4 separate regions of the Homo sapiens genome follow, and all the other regions are linked to region 1. Evidence: promoter capture Hi-C in human tissues and cell types (Jung and others, 2019). All regions are on one chromosome and are shown on one strand. The core of a region is centred on a gene start or on the middle of the fragment in contact, and the rest is flanking DNA. Distances in the headings are between cores, read along the strand shown. Region 1 holds the start of P4HA1 (prolyl 4-hydroxylase subunit alpha 1). Region 2 has its middle 28 kb from the start of MCU. Region 3 overlaps PPP3CB (protein phosphatase 3 catalytic subunit beta). Region 4 overlaps MCU (mitochondrial calcium uniporter).

Evidence for each region. The method cuts DNA at HindIII sites, captures the fragments that hold promoters and counts their contacts. A contact is called where the count stands out against the background at its distance.
Region 2: a fragment that was not itself captured here is called in contact with the fragment with the promoter of P4HA1 in region 1 in 1 of the 25 tissues and cell types used here (dorsolateral prefrontal cortex).
Region 3: a fragment that was not itself captured here is called in contact with the fragment with the promoter of P4HA1 in region 1 in 1 of the 25 tissues and cell types used here (psoas muscle).
Region 4: a fragment that was not itself captured here is called in contact with the fragment with the promoter of P4HA1 in region 1 in 2 of the 25 tissues and cell types used here (mesendoderm cells and thymus).

The regions. Positions count from the first base shown.
Region 1 is chr10:73,094,925-73,099,164 of GRCh38, reverse strand. P4HA1 (prolyl 4-hydroxylase subunit alpha 1) reads left to right here and starts at 2,299. Exons shown (of 15, transcript NM_001017962.3): 1 at 2,299-2,399. RefSeq lists enhancers at 1,849-1,918, 2,163-2,918 and a silencer at 1,949-2,278. The HindIII fragment of the contact is 7,006 bases long and covers 1-3,805 here.
Region 2 is chr10:72,662,275-72,666,514 of GRCh38, reverse strand. No RefSeq gene overlaps it. Among named protein-coding and RNA genes, the nearest start is that of MCU, 28 kb to the left of the region's middle. The HindIII fragment of the contact is 7,462 bases long and covers 1-4,240 here.
Region 3 is chr10:73,489,870-73,494,109 of GRCh38, reverse strand. The region is part of intron 1 of PPP3CB (protein phosphatase 3 catalytic subunit beta); the gene reads left to right. Among named protein-coding and RNA genes, the nearest start is that of PPP3CB-AS1, 3.8 kb to the left of the region's middle. The HindIII fragment of the contact is 4,358 bases long and covers 1-4,125 here.
Region 4 is chr10:72,722,954-72,727,193 of GRCh38, reverse strand. All of the region lies in intron 1 of MCU (mitochondrial calcium uniporter), which reads right to left. Among named protein-coding and RNA genes, the nearest start is that of MIR4676, 4.0 kb to the right of the region's middle. The HindIII fragment of the contact is 5,564 bases long and covers 1-4,240 here.

The sequences.
Region 1 (4,240 bases), core at 1,050-3,549:
GGGAAGTCACTAAGGACTAAAGATTGCAGTTTAAAATACATTACTTTTATAAATTTTACAGAAGCATAGGACAGTGTGAACATATTACTAGGGACCCTTCCAGGGACTTGGAAAGGGCTAGTGTAAATGAGGGCACCTGAAGCTGAAGCCTCCTTAGCTTCACAGTAAATCTGCTTCAGAGTCTACGGCCATTTTAATTACTGAGTAAACTGTCAACTTTCAGAGTCAGCTCTATGTAGGGCTAGTGAATATGTTGATTACAGCTCCATTTGAGGAAGTTTTTTTTTTTTTTTTTGAGATGGAGTCTGACTCTGTCCCCAGGCTGGAGTGCAATGGTGTGATCTCAGCTCACTGCAACCTCTGCCTCCTGGGTCCAAATGATTCTCATGCCTCCGCCTCCTGAGTAGCTGGGATTACAGGTGTTTGCCACCATGCCCAGCTAATTTTTGCATTTTTAGTAGAGACAGGGTTTCACCATGTTGGCCAGGATGGTCTTGATCTCCTGACCTTGTGATCCGTCTGCCTTGGCCTCGCAAAGTGCAGGGATTACAGGTGTGAGCCACCGCACGCCCTGCCTCTTTGGTCTTATAATTACTTTATACTCCTAAAAAGTATTGAGGACTCCAAAAAGCTTTTATGTGGATCATATTTATCAACATTTACTATATTAGGAATTAAAACAAACATATAAAATATTTATTCATTTAAAACAACAATAATAAACCTGTTACATGTTAACATAACATAAATAACTTTTTTTTTGAGAGAGGGTCTGGCCATGTTGCCCAGGCTGATTTCGAACTCCTGGGCTCAGGTGATCTTCCCGCCTCGGCCTCCCAAAGTGCTGGGATTACAGGTGTGAGCCACTTCATTTGGCCTAATAACATATTTTTAATGAAAAATAACTATTTTCCAAAGCAAAATAATTTAGTGAGAAGAGTGGCATTATTTTACATTTCTGCAAATCTCTTCAGTGTCTGGGCTAATAGAAGATTCTCATATCTGTGTCTGCGTTCCATCTGTATCACAGGCATGTAGTCTCTGGAAGACCTCACTGTATTGTTATTAGAGTGAAAAAGGCAGTAAGTCTTAGTATGAAAATAAAGTCTTAGTATGAAAATAATTTTGACCTTATGGATTCCCTGACTACGCTTTCAGAACCATTGATTTAGACATCATTATATCTACTTTTTAGTTGCCTAGTGCTCCCAGAGTACCCTCTCTCTCTTTCTGTAGCTATATAATCACTCACCTCCTGCGTAAGTCAAATGTTAATTATTGCTATACTTTTTAGCATACATGGAAAACTTTAGAAACCACAATTCTTAATGAATAACAAGTCTTAGCAACTCATTTTTCTCTTTAACTGACAAGGAAAAAATTATCTTCTTCATTGTATTCTCCCTCATAGTACAGGGAGATATAAAGAAACCCTTGGTTTGGGGTTACTTTATAACTAAGGCAAATGTTAGACTAAGATCAAACGCAACATTGGGTGCCTTATATAAATTAATGTTACTGGAGAATCTAATATTTACTAAGTCATTTCTGTGTGTGAGGCATGTGTTAAGTGCTTTACATACATTATCTCATTTTATTCTCACAAGAATCTTACAAGATGGGTAGTACCGTCATTTCTATTTTACAGATGAGTAAACGGATACGGAGAGGTTGTTAATGCCTAGTGTTACACACAGGATTGAGGCAGGATTTGAATTGAGATAACCTGACCCTGGAGCTCTTAGTCTATTATCTACTGATAAGGTATAAAGGTAGGAGATAGAGCACGATTAGTATAAAATGAGTGCTGAGATGTGAGAGGAACAAGACAGCTGAGATACCAAGACTGAATCTCTATTATTTTCCACCCTAGAAAAATTCTGCTTTATTTTCTACACTCCCACGTTCCTCTTCTCATTTTTAAGATACTTTATTGCCGGCGGCCTCGTCGCTTAGGCCTGACGCGGACCCTGAAATCAAGGAGGCAAACTGAACAGGAGCGGGGGAAACCCCGTGGTAACCACGGTAACGGTGGCGGGGCGAGAACCCTGCGCAGGCGCGTTACATCCCACTCCCGCTTACCCACACCACGGCGGCCGGTCCCAGCCACTCCTCTCGGCCTCAGACTCCACGGGCCGGCCACGGGTGGGGGCAGCAGGGAGGCACGGGCTTGGCGCCTGCGCAGTCGCCGGGGCGCTGGTGTGATCGAGCTCACGTAGCGAGGGCTGCAGTCGCCTCCTCCCTGGCGCTGCCATCGCGGCCTAGAGGTTATAAAAGGGCTAACGGGCTCCCTCTGCTGCCCAGTCGCGCCGCCAGCGGGCTGAGGGTAGGAAGTAGCCGCTCCGAGTGGAGGCGACTGGGGGCTGAAGAGCGCGCCGCCCTCTCGTCCCACTTTCCAGGTGAGACGCTCCCTCGATCCCGGAGACTGAGGCCACTGGGCAGCCGTGGACCTTCTCGGACGGCTGCGGCGATCCATTCCTTCCCGCTGTGGTGGTACTTCTGGGGCGGGGGTTCCCCAGGTTACCACAGCAGCCTCGGTTCCTTCCCCTCGGGAGACTCGGCCCCTCTCCCTGCGCCACGCGACTCCCGGCGCCCGCGCTCCTTCGTGCCCCCCTTCCCACCTCTGTCCCTAGTGCGCCTCGGACCGCTGGGGCTGCTGCAGCCTCAGTCCCCGCCCTAGGGACCAGGACTTTCTTGAATTTTCCTTCCCGGGGAGGAATCACTCTGTTGCTTTTTTTTTTTTCCAAGTTCCCCTGCACCTGGTCCTCCCTAACGAGGCTAAGGGGAACGCAAGCGCGGGGCGTGGGCTTTTGGCCGCCACAGCCGCAGATGGTTCGCATGTGGCGGTGGAGAGCGGATTTTAAGGCTTGGAGCTGGATCCGCAGCGCGCCAGGCATTTTTGCCCTATCGAAAGTCGCCGGGAGCTGGGGGGACCTCCCCAGAAAGTTCCGGCTGAACTCATCTGTTGCGCGCAGCGGTGCAGCATTAGCTGCCAGACGTAGCCCGGGGCGCCGAGCTTTCTGCTCGTAGCGCCGAGGAAGTAGGCTCTCAGGTCACCTCGTCGTCAGGGAAGCTTCCTTCCCTCTTCTTCCCCATAACTTTTTTTAAAAAGAGACAAGAGCTCTTCTCTCAATCTCTGTCTCTCTGTCTCTCTCTGCCGAGAATTTGCAGCTTTTAAAAGTCCACATCAGTCCAACAAATTCCATGGTTGTGTGAGGATTTTGAGTTGGATTACATGGCTGGCCCCCGGATGTATGTTTCAATGGGGAGGAAGGATGGTATGATAACTGTGAGACTCTTTCTCCTAAATAATCGACTCTGTTACATACAAATTCAATGTTTAGACACTAACATCTTACGCGTTCCGGATAGAGTGAAGACTCTTGGAATTTTGCACTGTTTTCTTTAAGAAAGGGTTGAAGAAGCAGCTAGATCCTCTTTTAGGAATTGATCTAAAAGGCCAAAGAGACTTGCCAATTTCCACTTAACTGTTTCTGGTTTCTCCGAGAGCAGTGGTTCTCGGACTTTCGCTTGGAATGCACTCGGAGGGGATGAAATAGCCACTACGTGAAGGGGGGAGGGGCAAAGACGTGGCAGCAGCGTTCTTTCATCAATTTTTTACTCTTTTTTTTTTTTTTTTTTAAAGTTCTGGTTAGAAACGTATTTCCCCTTTTAGGTTTAGACGTAGCTTATGAATGAGGCTAGTCTTTTCCTAAAATAATCAGATGAAGAATTCAGTCTGCATAGCAGGAACGTTGGAAGTTAATTTAAAAAACATTTTAAAGGGATTTTTAGAATCAAGTTTCTATGGAGAAAATCGGTATCCTAAGACGATATATTCAAGAAGCTGAAAGTGAACAACCTCAACTATATTTTGTCTTCATGTGAAATGTGAATACACACCCCGTGATTTTTTTTTTTTTTTTTTTTTTTTTTTAGCTTGTGAGCGTAATTTAAGAATCTGAAATGTGAACTTCAAATTTTACTTTTTTCTTTATGTGGGAAAAGAGACTTTATCACTTACCTTTAATAAAATTCATAGTCAGTTTTGGTTTTGGGACATTGTGCCTTAAGTCCTGCCATTGTTTTTGATAGCTGATGACAAATGTTTCTTAGATTTACATAGACTAACTAGGAAAAGGACTATTTCTGTCTCTTTTAAATGGGTAGTGCTGTTTTTATTGACATTTTGAAATGAGTTTTATTTTGAAGTACTGAAAATCAGGACTTTGGTAGGCGG
Region 2 (4,240 bases), core at 1,228-3,727, 430 kb after region 1:
TTTTTTTTTTTTTTTTTGAGACAGGGTCTCACTGTGTCACCCAGGCTGGAGTGCAGTGGTGTGATCTGGGCTCACTATAACCTCCACCTTCCGGGTTCAAGCTATTCTCATGCCTCAGCCTCCTAAGTAGCTGGAATTACAGATGCCCACCACCATGCCCAGCTAGTTTCTGTATTTTTAGTACAGATAGGGTTTCACCATGTTGGCCAGGCTGGTCTAAATTCCTGACCTCAAATGATCTGCCCCCCTCGACCTCCCAAAGTGCTGGAATTAAAGGTGTGAGCCACCACACCCAGCAATTTATACAATTTCTAGATGTCTGTTATTACTTCATTTCCTGTTGCTGAGCCTTGCTTTGTTATCTTAATAAAGCATAAATAATACCTCCAGTGGAACTGGGTTTACTCCTGTGACTGATCAACCCCACCCTCCTAATTAGAGATTTATTAGTCATTCAGAGAGTAGTACAGTCAGCATCAAAATATTGTGCCACAGGCATATATATAAACACTTTTTAAAATAAATCACTTTAGGAGGCCAAGGCGGGCGGATCATGAGGTTAGGAGTTCGAGACTAGCCTGGCCAACATGGTGAAACCCCATCTCTACTAAAAATACAAAAAATTAGCCAGGCATGGTGGCACACACCTGTAGTCCCAGCTACTCTGGAGGCAGAGGCAGAAGAATGGCTTGAACCTGGGAGGCGGAGGTTGCAGTGAGCCGAGATTGTGCCACTGTACTGTAGCCTGCGTGACACAGTGACACTCTGTCTCAAAAAAAAAAAATCTGAAAAAATAGCCAAGAAATTTACCAATCACGATGTCTACTCTTCATCTATATGAGATTAATACACTTAATATTTAGTAAGAAAGTCCTCATAGTTACAAAAGTACTATTTTCTATGTTTTCACCAGCTCACAAAAGTCTTCCTCCTCCTCTCCTACCCAACCAGTAACCTTCAAATGTTCAAATTATGCAAGGAAAATTTAGAATGAGGGGATTCTCAGGAGAAAGATTTATTGTTTTTCAGAAAACATTTAAGAGCTTTTAAGAGCTATCTGCAACAACAGGGATGGTTAAGTAATCTATAGTGAATATACCCAATGGAATACTATATAGTTTTTGTTTTATATTTTTTCTAGAATACTATATCGTTTTTTAAAATAATGACATAGGGTGGGTGTGGTGGCTCATACCTGTAATCCCAGCACTTTGGGAGGCCAAGGCGGGTGGATCACCTGAGGTCAGGAGTTTGAGACCAGCCTGGCCAATATGGTGAAACCCCGTCTCCCTACAAAAAATACAAAAATTAGCTGGGCGTGGTGGCACTCACATGTAATCTCAGCTACTTGGGAGGCTGAGGCCAGGGAATCACTTGAACCCAGGAGGCGGAGGTTGCAGTAAGCTCAGATTGCACCACTGCACTCTAGCCTGGGCGACAGAACAAGACTCCGTCTCAAAAAAAAAAAAAAAAAAAAAAAAAAGACATAAATCTATCTTCATTAATGTGAAAAGATATTTATGATACATAAACTGATAAAAGGAGGTTATAAAAACATGTTTTGTTGAACATAAGAAAAAAAAAGGCCAGGTGCAGTGGCTTACGTCTATAATCCCAGCACTTTGGGAGGCCGAGGCAGGTGGATCACAAGGTCAGGAGCTCAAGAATAGCCTGGCTAACATGGTGAAACCCCATCTCTACTCAAAACACAAAAATGAGCCAGGTATGGTGGCGTGTGCCTGTAATCCCAGCTGTTCGGGTGGCTGAGGGAGGAGAATGGCTTGAACAAGGGAGGTGGAGGTTGCGGTGAGCCGAGATCGTGCCACTGCACTCCAGCCTGGGTGATAGAGCGAGACTCCGTCTCAAAAAATAATAATAAAATAAAAATATAAAATAAAATAAGAAAAGAAAGATAGTGTCTTGGTGTTGAACTCAAAATAACTTTAATTTTCTTCATTTTAAAAAATTTTGATATTTTAACAATTAGCATTTTTTATTTTCATAGACAAAACAAAAAATATATTCCTACTTTTAAAAAGGAATAAATATGAGTTGTTTGGTGATGAGAAAACAGTCTCTCTCTCTCTTTCTCTCCCTCCTTCCCTCTCTACCTTTCAATTCTTCTTGCTTCTGATTGGCTTGCTACTACATACAGGTTCTAACCCTAAGGTGGGAAAGATGGCTGCCCCCAGCTCCAGACTCCAAAGTATACCCACAATTAACTCCAGCAGATAGAGATGATCTTCTTTATTAGCTGTAGCAGAAAAGTCACAGGGCAGCTTGACTTGCATCAGGAACCAACAATGTGGTGGGAAGTGAGTGGGGGTAGCTAAGGAATGTAATTTTCTGATGGGATAAGTCTTGGTCACAAGATATCTCCTATAGCCAGGGAGGAGAGGGAGTGAGTCCACACTGAGTTCATTCCCAGTAGGACAGACTAGTTTTGTCATCTTGAAGGAAAGAGGAAGGGTTGCTGAAAAGACTGAAATAATAGATATATATTACAATATTTATTCTAGACTCATATTAATAATAAATTTTAAAAGGAATTTCACACTGGGTTTTTCAGTGTTTGGGAAGTGGAAGGCACTATTCAATATCAAAACCCAATACTTATTCATTCAATAAATATTCATCGATTATCTATTATGTGCCCAGTAGCCTATACACTACTGGGATGGGAAGTAAACAAAAAGCAAACAAGCAAAATATCCCTACTCTCATGGATCATACATGTTCAGACATCAGCAACAACTCTGAAAAATGAGTCTGGAATTGTCCTCTTGCTGGAAATTTTATTGCAGTGGTTGAGATGAAAGAAAATGCACTTTGGCTTTTATGTAATTATTTTTTCACTTGTCTGTGAACACCATAATAAGATCCTATTCTTGAAAGAAACTAAGCTAAGTCATGAGATTTACAGGCAAGTGAGAGGAGTACTGGCTTTTATGCCTTGATATTAATGGAAAATTGCATTATCTAGACACACTCCAAGGTGTTCAGCAGCATCCTTGAGCTTTAAACTTTGTTACTTAACCTGCCCTTACAGTGACACTAGGCAAACCAATCTTGGGTTGCATATTTAATTTCTTTTTTTTTTTTTTTTTTTTGAGACGGAGTCTCACTCTTTCGCCCAGGCTGGACTGCAGTGGCGCTATCTCGGCCCACTGCCAGCTCCGCCTCCCGGGTTCACGCCATTCTCCTGCCTCAGCCTCCCGAGTAGCTGGGACTACAGGCGCCCGCCACCATGCCCGGCTAATTTTTTGTATTTTTAGTAGGGACGGGATTTCACCATGTTAGCCAGGATGGTCTCGATCTCCTGACCTCGTGATCTGCCCACCTCAGCCTCCCAAAGTGCTGGGATTACAGGCGTGAGCCACGCGCCTGGCCTGCATATTTAATTTCAGGCAAAAATTCTTTTTACAGTTGACTCAGCAAAGAACAAATTTCTTTTTACAAGCCAGTAGGTTAAGGTACATGGATCAGAACAAGATACTCATTTTGTTTCTTGTTAGTGTTTATTCTTGACATAGCAAACACCTAACACTGAATTCAAAAAGCTTTGGAAGGAGAATCTAAAGCAAGTTTTAGCTAACGTATTTTTATGCTTTTTTAAAAAAACTGTTAAGAACGGCCAGGTACAGTGGCACATGCCTGTAATCCCAGCACTTTGGGAGGCCGAGGCAGGTGGATCAGACCATCTTGGCCAACATGGTGAAACCCTGTCTCTACTAAAGTACAAATAATTAGCCAGGCGTGGTGGCATGTGCCTGTAATCCCAGCTACTTGGGAGGCTGAGGGTGGGGAATAGCTTGAACCAGGGAGGTGGAGGTTGCAGTGAGCTGAGATCGTACCACTGCACTACAGCCTGGCGACAGAGCAAGAATTCCGTCTCAAAAAAAAAAAAAAAAAACAACCTGTTAAGAACATAGCAATTGTAATTCCCTACCATAGTGAATCTCAACTTCAGCTACACATAAGAATCATCTTTTAAAAACTACTGGAATGGGGGTGGGGCCAGGCGCAGTGGCTCACCCCTGTAATCCCAACACTTTGGGAGGGGGAGGTGGGTGGATCACCTGAGGTCAGGAGTTCAAGACCAGCCTGGCCAAAATGGAGAAACCCCCGACTCTACTAAAAATACAAAAAATTAGCTGGATGTGGTGGTGTATGCCTGTAATCTCAGCTACTCTGGAGACTGAGACAGGGGAATCACTTGAACCCGGGAGGCGGAGGCTGC
Region 3 (4,240 bases), core at 697-3,196, 400 kb before region 1:
GGAACGGGACATTGGCTACCTCTTCATTTTCTGACTGTATTTCTGTGTTGTGTGTTCATTTCCCTGGGCACTTTTCACCAGACTGTTAGATGGGGTAACCAATCACATTCCTGAACAATGAGTTTATGCTATCCTTACGTTTGTGAATCTTCTTATTCCTTGTCATATATATGGTAATGTTTTTTCTGTACTGCTTTAATGCAGTGAAAATAAGATTCCAAACATAAGGCAGATTCCTTAGGGGTGAGTTGTGAGTCCAAGGCAGTCATATTTGCAGGTTATTGGTGTGGAATAAAAGCCATTTGATTTAGATAAATAGGAAAGGAGCTTGTTAATATAGAAAATTATAGTTAAATAAAGCTTATGGTTATCATATTTCTGGTGCTTCATTGTGCCCTCTTCATAGAGACAACTTTCATTTCTTTATGGAATTTGTTAACCAGTTGGAATTCCTGTATGGATTATATGTTTTAAAATGGTGTGTAACAGACTAATTTGCACTGCTCATGGAGTCTCCTGCATTTACTGGGAAATTCACCTTTCTTACAGATCCAGAAATTCACTTTTAAATTTCATCTTCAGGATTCTTCCTTGTCTTTTATTCAGTAATTATACTATAATGTGATACCTGATATTAGAGAATACTGGTTGCCTGATGATAAATGATGTGAGTTCAGCTTAAGTTTAACTTGTTAAAATCCAAATTTCTTTTAAGTCCACAATGTGGTGGTAGTTTTGTATCGATACATTTTCATAGTAGTGATATTATGGAGACTGTCTGTTGGCATTGAATGCAAGTAGTCTTTTTCTCCCTGGAATTTTTTTTTTTTTTTTGAGACGGAGTTTCACTCTTGTTGCCCAAGTGGAGTGCAGTGGCGCGATCTCTACTCACTGCAACCTCTGCCTCCTGGGTTCAAGCGATTCTCCTGCCTCAGCCTCCCGAGTAGCTGGGATTATAGGTGCGCGCCACCATGCCCGGTTAATTTTTTGTATTTTTTAGCAGAGACGGGGTTTCACCATGTTGGCCAGGCTGGTCTCAAACTCCTGACCTCATGATCCTCCCACCGTGGCCTCCCAAAGTGTTGGGATTACAGGCGTGAGCCACCGCGCCCGGCCTGCCTCCCTGGAACTTCTTAGTGTCAAAATTTTATACTCCATGCTTGTAGTCATAAGGCCTACATTTTATGGTCATGTAGGTTTTTAAGGGTGTATAGGTCTTTCTGTGTTTAAGATCAGATACCTGAAATTCACTTTTTGTGAAGTTTGGGAGCTTGGAATACTGTAGGTGATTCATGAGTAAATGTGATGAGCTTGTCACTAAAATTATTAGTGGTAATTCCATGTCATTGATTATGGGTCATTAGGTTTTTGGTTGATTAAATTCAGTTCTGAGCCTACTCCAGCTGCTGGCTCAAGTCAAATTCTTCCCCTGTTTGAAAGTTGATCTAACCCACCTGATTAAGCAAGATGGTATATACCCTTTTAATTATATTCTATTAAGCATTCTTTAGCTATGTAGGAAATAAGAAAGTGGAAAAAAATTAGGAAAAATATCTAACCGTATCTGCATGTGTGCTTTCTTACCACATCAGCAAAGCTGGTATAGGTAATTGAAGCACAAAATCCTGAATTTATATATATTGCTTTCCCTCCTCCCCACAAAGTTTACTTGACCTGAATTGCCCAGATACCTCCTTTTTTCCCCAGATACTTAAAAAATGTACGTTTTGCTTTGTATACCAGGTTCTAGATTTGTAAAGCTGGATTGTCTCTTGAGATTATCAAGACTGTTAGTATTAATAAAAAATTCACCTTTTTACTTAGAGAGCATTGTCAGTATTGGGCATATGTTCATTTTAGCACCTACAATGTGAGTCATTTTCTTAACATTATTTTATTTCATGGGTTATAGTAACCTCAAATTATCAGACTTTCAGATTGAACCAAAATGCTGAATTTATGTGTTTTAATTTTTTTTAAGCTAAAGTATTTCTGATTGACAACGTTAGAATTCATTTGGATTCTGTTGCCAGTTGCCCTGCTTATAAATCTGAAGTCATTTGGCTAAAGTGTTTTCTAGTAGCTTTCCTTTAGGAGGATTACTTTTTGTTTATTTATTTATTTATTTATTTATTTATTTTTGAGATGGAGTTTCGCTCTTCTTGCCTAGACTGGAGTGCAATGGCGCAATCTCGGCTCACTGCAACCTCCACCTCCCGGGTTCAAACGATTCTCCTGCCTCAACCTCCCAAGTAGCTGGGATTACAGGCATGTGCCACCACGCCCGGCTAATTTTGTATTTTTAGTAGAGACGACATTTCTCCATGTTGGTCAGGCTGGTCTCGATCTCCTGACCTCAGGTGATCCACCCACCCTGGCCTCCCAAAATGCTGGGATTATAGGCATGAGCCACCGTGCCTAGCCAGATTACTTATTTTCAGATAACCCATATAGCCTTGGTGTGACATAGCTACTTCAGTGTTTCTTGCTAGTTCTATTTCATTATATTTTAAAGCAGCTTGAATTTTAATTTTTGTTTACAAAGTCTATTTTGTGGACTTATCTGTGTAAAAAGAACTAGAAATTATTTTTCTTTTACTTTCCACTCTCATTACTGTTAACCATACTAAAATAAATCTTCAGGCCAGGCGCAGCAGTGGTTCATGCCTGTAATCCCAGCACTTTGGGAGGCCGAGGCGGGGGGATCACTTGAGGTCAGGAGTTTGAGACTAGCCTGGCCAACATGGTGAAACCCCATCTCTACTAAAAATACAAAAATTTGGCTGGGCACAGTGGCTCACGCCTGTAATCCCAGCACTTTGGGAGGCTGAGGCAGGTGGATCACGAGATCAGGAGTTCGAGACCAGCCTGACCAACATGGTGAAACCCCGTCTCTACTAAAAATACAAAAATTAGCCTGGTGTGGTGGTACACGCCTGTAATCCCAGCTACTCGGGAGGCTGAGGCAGGAGAATCGCTTGAACCTGCGAGGCGGAGATTGCAGTGAGCCGAGTTCATGCCACTGCACTCCAGCCTGGGCGACAGAGCAAGACTGTCAAAAAAAAAAAAAAAAAAAAAAAAAAAAAACAATAAAAACAAACAAACAAAAATTAGCAGGGTGTGGTGGCACGCACCTGTAATCCTAACTACTTGGGAGGCTGAGGCAGGAGAATCACTTGAACCTGAGAAGTGGAGGCTGCAGTGAGCCGAGATTGTGCCACTGCACCCTGCCTGGGTGACAGAGCGATATTCCGTCTCAAATAAATAAAAATAAATAAATAAAATAAATCTTCAGTACCATGTGTCCTAGTGAAAGCAAAGGAACAGAAAGAGAGAGAGAAAAAGAGTGTGAGGGGATGGGGTGAGAGGGAGAGGGAGAGGGAACACTATGGTAACAAGTTACCTTAAAAGGAAAATGCCAAGTTGGAAATACAGCTTAGTAGTGAGGCAAAAGCTTCAGGTTCCAGAGCTATTGAATGAATTGGCAAGAGTTGTAAGGAAAAGTTTGGTAAAAGGACCTTGATTTATTAAACAAAGCGTGCCAATCATATGACCTCATTTCACCATAAAAAATGTTTTTTATACACAGAGATGAAATAAGCTGAAGCTAATTGGGCATCGTCTGTGTATGGTATGTAAAATTTATTTTGGAACATCACAGTCGTGAAATAGCAAATATTTATTAAATGTCTGCTGTATCACAAAACTGTAGGAGAACAACAAAAGTACAAAATATAAAATACAGACTTGGTTCATGAATAAATATTCATGAAAAATTAACAATATATGACATAAGGACAGGTATAGTTAATAATTGCCAGGTAAGTTGCTGAGCCCGCAAGTTGTCAGTTCAAAGGAGGTAGTGATGACTCTGGACTGGAATGGTCTAGGAAGGGCTTGTGTAGAAGCAAAGGGGCCTTGAAGGATGGTTAGGATTAAAATAGAGGATTGGGACCATTTATTTGTGCAGTGTTTATTGAGTACCAGCTTTGTACCAGGCATTGTGCTAGGCATTGATGATACAGAAGTGAATAGGATATTAAGTAAGATAGATTCTCTTGTAGTGCCGGCATTCTAGTGGGGGAGACACTATTATAAATAAATAATGTAATGAATTTGGTACAAAGCGCTACTGGAGCTGTAAAGAAGGGATTGGCTATCTTACTTTGAGGGAAAGCGTCACTGAGAGGATAATGTTTCGAGGTAGTCCTTGAAGGATGAGTAGAATTTCACCAGAAAG
Region 4 (4,240 bases), core at 1,245-3,744, 370 kb after region 1:
CCCTCTCTGAGCACTGGTGCTCTATATTTATCTTTTCAAGCTGAGAGACTACAAGAGGAAGAGATTCCTATAATTAATCCTCTTGCAACCAAGTGGATACCCACTTTAAAGATAAAAATCTATTGCCAAAACGGCCTTTATTTCCCAACCGCCATCCCCAAAGCCATACATTAAAATTTGTCTCAACTCAATTTACCTTCTAGTCTATTAGAATATTTTCCAGGTACTAGAGCTTTGATGAAAGACTTTTGTTTTATTTTGTACTAAGGTAACACAGTCATTCAGAAGATTATCAATTTTATAAATAGAACTCTTAAAGTCTTTTTAAGAATCCAGAAAAATCCTATAACTAACAACTATAAGAAGACTATATATTTTATGGCCTTACATGAACCAGAAGGGACCTTGGAAAGACTCTTAAGTTGGCTAAGAAAAGCAATCTGGCAGTAATTATTAAATATGGGTTGAGTATTCCTCATTGGAAATGCTTTGGACCAGAAGTGTTTCAAATACTGAATTTTGATTTTTTTTAGATTAGGAATACTCAACCTATATCATTAAATATGCATATATCATATGTACATATACTTTGAACCAGAAATCCCACTACTTATCTCATAAACGTACCTGTATATAAGGATATGTACAAGATGCTTATTACAATGTTCACAGTGACAAAAAAAAACAGGAAACAAAGTGAATGTCCACCAGTAAAATATCAGCTGAATAAACAAAAGTACAGCTGCATCAAGGAATAATCCCATATATGATGGCATATTATACGGCCATTGAATTAATGACAGAGCTGTATCAGTTGACTTAGAGGGAGCTCTACTATTTATTACTATGTGAGAAAAACAAAATACAGGAAAGAATGCAAATATGATCCAATTTTACAGAACGAACTACACACACACACACACACACACACACACACGTGTGTGTGTGTGCCTGAAGTATGTGTGTGCTGATAGACAAAAAACAAATAGGGTGGAGCCAGGTGCCACGGCCAATGCCTACGATTCTATCTACTCCAGAGGCTGAGGTGGGAGGATCCTTTGAGCCCAGGAGTTCAAGACCAGCCTGGCAATACAGCAGGATCCTATCTTAAAATATATAAATAAATAAAAACAGATAGGATAATCATTCAAGTATGAAGAAAAATATGGAAGGATATATATACGACATGGTTATCTTGGAGCAAAATGGGAAGGAGAGAGAATCAGGCAAGAAAGGAGGAAATAAATATGATTTTAGTTATATGAAAGGCAGTATGTATAAACACATAGATTAATTTTTTTTCTTTTTTTTCAGACAGTTTCGCTCTTGTTGCCTAGGCTGGAGTGCAATGGTGCAATCTTGGCTCATTGCAACCTCCACCTCCTGGGTTCAAGCAATTCTTCTGCCTCAATCTCCCAAGTAGCTGAGATTACAGGTGCCCACCACCATGCCCAGCTAATTTTTGTATTTTAGTAGAGATGGGGTTTCACCATGTTGGTCAGCTGGTCTCGAACTGACCTTAGGTGATCCACCGACCTCAGCCTCCCAAAGTGTTGGGATTATAGGCGTGAGCCACCGCACCCGGCCTACATTAATATTTTTTAAATGAAAATAGTATGAGCCAGGCACAATGGCTCATACCTGTAATCCCAACACTTTGGGAGGCCCCAGGTGGGAGGATCATTTGAAGGCAGGAGTTAGAGACCAGCTTAGGCAACATAGTGGGACTCCATCTCCATAAAAAACATTTTTAAATTAGCCAGGTGTGGGCCAGGCGCAGTGGCTCATGCCTGTAATCTCAGCACTTTGGGATGCTGAGGCAAGCGGATCACAAGGTCAGGAGATCGAGGCTATCCTGGCTAACGCGGTGAAACCCCGTCTCTACTAAAAAATACAAAAAATTAGCCAGGTGTGGTAGCAGGCACCTGCAGTCCCAGCTTCTCGGGAGGCTGAGGCAGGAGAATGGCGGGAACCCGGGAGGTGGAGCTTACAGTGAGCCGAGATCACACCACTGCACTCCAGCCTGGGTGACAGAGCGAGACTCCGTCTCAAAAAAAAAAAATTAGCCAGGTGTGGTGGCGTGTGTATGTAGACCCAGCTACTTGAAGAGGCTGAGGTGGGAGGATCCCCTGAACCCAGGAAGTCGAGGCTCAGGAGAGTAAGCCATGCTTGTGCCACTGCACTATAGCCTGGATGACAACATGAGACCTTGTTTCAAAAAAATAAAAAATAAACACAGTGTGAAAGTTATTAAAAACCAGCTAATCCAACCATCCAGATGCCCCAAAGATTCGTTTATTCAACACTAAGTGCTTATTTTGTGCAATGAACTGGGGAAAAGGCTGGCATCTCCTTCCCAATAACAAATCTAGTAACGAAGAATCCATCTATTCCAAAGGATTTCCATTCCATTTTGAAGCTGATCTAATAAGAGAAAATTCTTCCATATGCTGAGCTGCAATTTGCTTCTCCATAAAGAGAAGGAATAAATCTAATCTAACCTTCATCCACATAGCTGTCTTCAAATATGTTCAGGACTAATACTGTATTTACTTGGCAACATTTACAGGTAGTTCCCTACTTTCATATATAATACAGCCCTTTAAATGTGCCTAAGAGTTGAATGTCCAGATTCAGACTTAAAGGACTTAAAATGTTAAAAAGTGACAAACTTGTGGGGGAGGGGGTGGTGGTAGAAATGCAGTTAAAATCACAAAGGATTAGTTTCCCTAATATACAAAGAACTCCCACAAATTACAAAGAAAAAGACCAACATCTCTATGAGAGTTAAGGAACATGAGTTTTAGTTCACAGCAAAGGGAAAGACAGTACTTTTAAAAGAATCTCACTTCACTTATACGAGAAAAACATATTAAAGCTTCATTGAGATACCATTTTTTCACCAGTCAGAAAGTTTAGTACCACATTGTATTGGCAAAGATGTAAGCAGAGAGTAATTCTGATACCTTCTACTTCAAGGAATACATTCTATAAACTCATACACAAGCAATGATGAATGCACAAGGTTATTCACCATAGCAATGCAAATAACTGCAAAAGACTGGAAACAACATACATGTGTAATAGGGAATTGATTTTTTAAAAATATAGTATATCTACATAACTATATTAAAGAATCACAAGCTATTTCTTAATATTCTTGATGAGCAAATCTAGAGACAAAAGGATGGGCTTTCCAATGACCTTAGAAGAATCTGACAGTTTGTGTTAAACGTTCTCGAAGATACCATCTGAAACAGATGGACTTTTAAAGATGTTCTGAATAACATTATTAAAATTTGTGGCTGTTACTTGTGAGTGTAAAAGAACATGGTGAGGGCGGTAACCTATTCTATCTGCAGAGCAACAAACTACAAAAGTCATCAGGTGAAAACGAGGAAAGAATGTTTACCTTTAAAATCCTCAAATGTGCTACCAAAAAATATATATATTTTGAAAAGCACGTTGCAAGCACAAATACTGATACAGCCACTCTGGAATATTATGCTGCCATTAAATGTGTATGACAAGTTTGTTAAATATTTGGTATAATGCTGAGCAAAAAAAGCAAAATATAGTTACATGGGTTTTTTTCTTCTTTGAGTCATCTTCGATGGTAAGTTATATGGTTTTATGTTGTATATAAAGATGACCTATTCTTTTATCAAAGCAAGATGAATTCCATTAAAAAATGTCTAAAAGGAAATACATAAAAATGTTAACAATGGTTGTCTCTGAGTAGCACTTTTTCTTTCTTCCATTTTTCTGTACATCTCAATTTCTATGATAAAAGATTTAGTACTTTTATCATAGAAAGAAATTTTTTAAAAATGAATGATTCTGAATATGTTAGAAAAAATAAGAATCATAGCATCATATATAGAACAGAAAACTAAGTTTATTAATTTAATCTTCGTTCTGACAAATTTGCTAATTTTTAAAAACTTAGCTGCAAAAAAAAGACTAGATAATAAACATTTTCTTTTTTTCTTTTTTTTAAGACAGAATCTCGCTCTGTCGCCCAGGCTGGAGTGCAGTGGCCCAATCTCGGCTCACTGCAAGCTCCGCCTCCTGGGTTCATGCCATTCTCCTGCCTCAGCCTCCCAAGTTGCTGGGACTACAGGCACCTGCCACCACACCCAGCTAATTTTTTGTATCTTTAGTAGAGATGGGGTTTCACCATGTTAGCCAGGATGGTCTTGATCTCCTGACCTCATGATCCACCTGCCTCAGCCTCCCA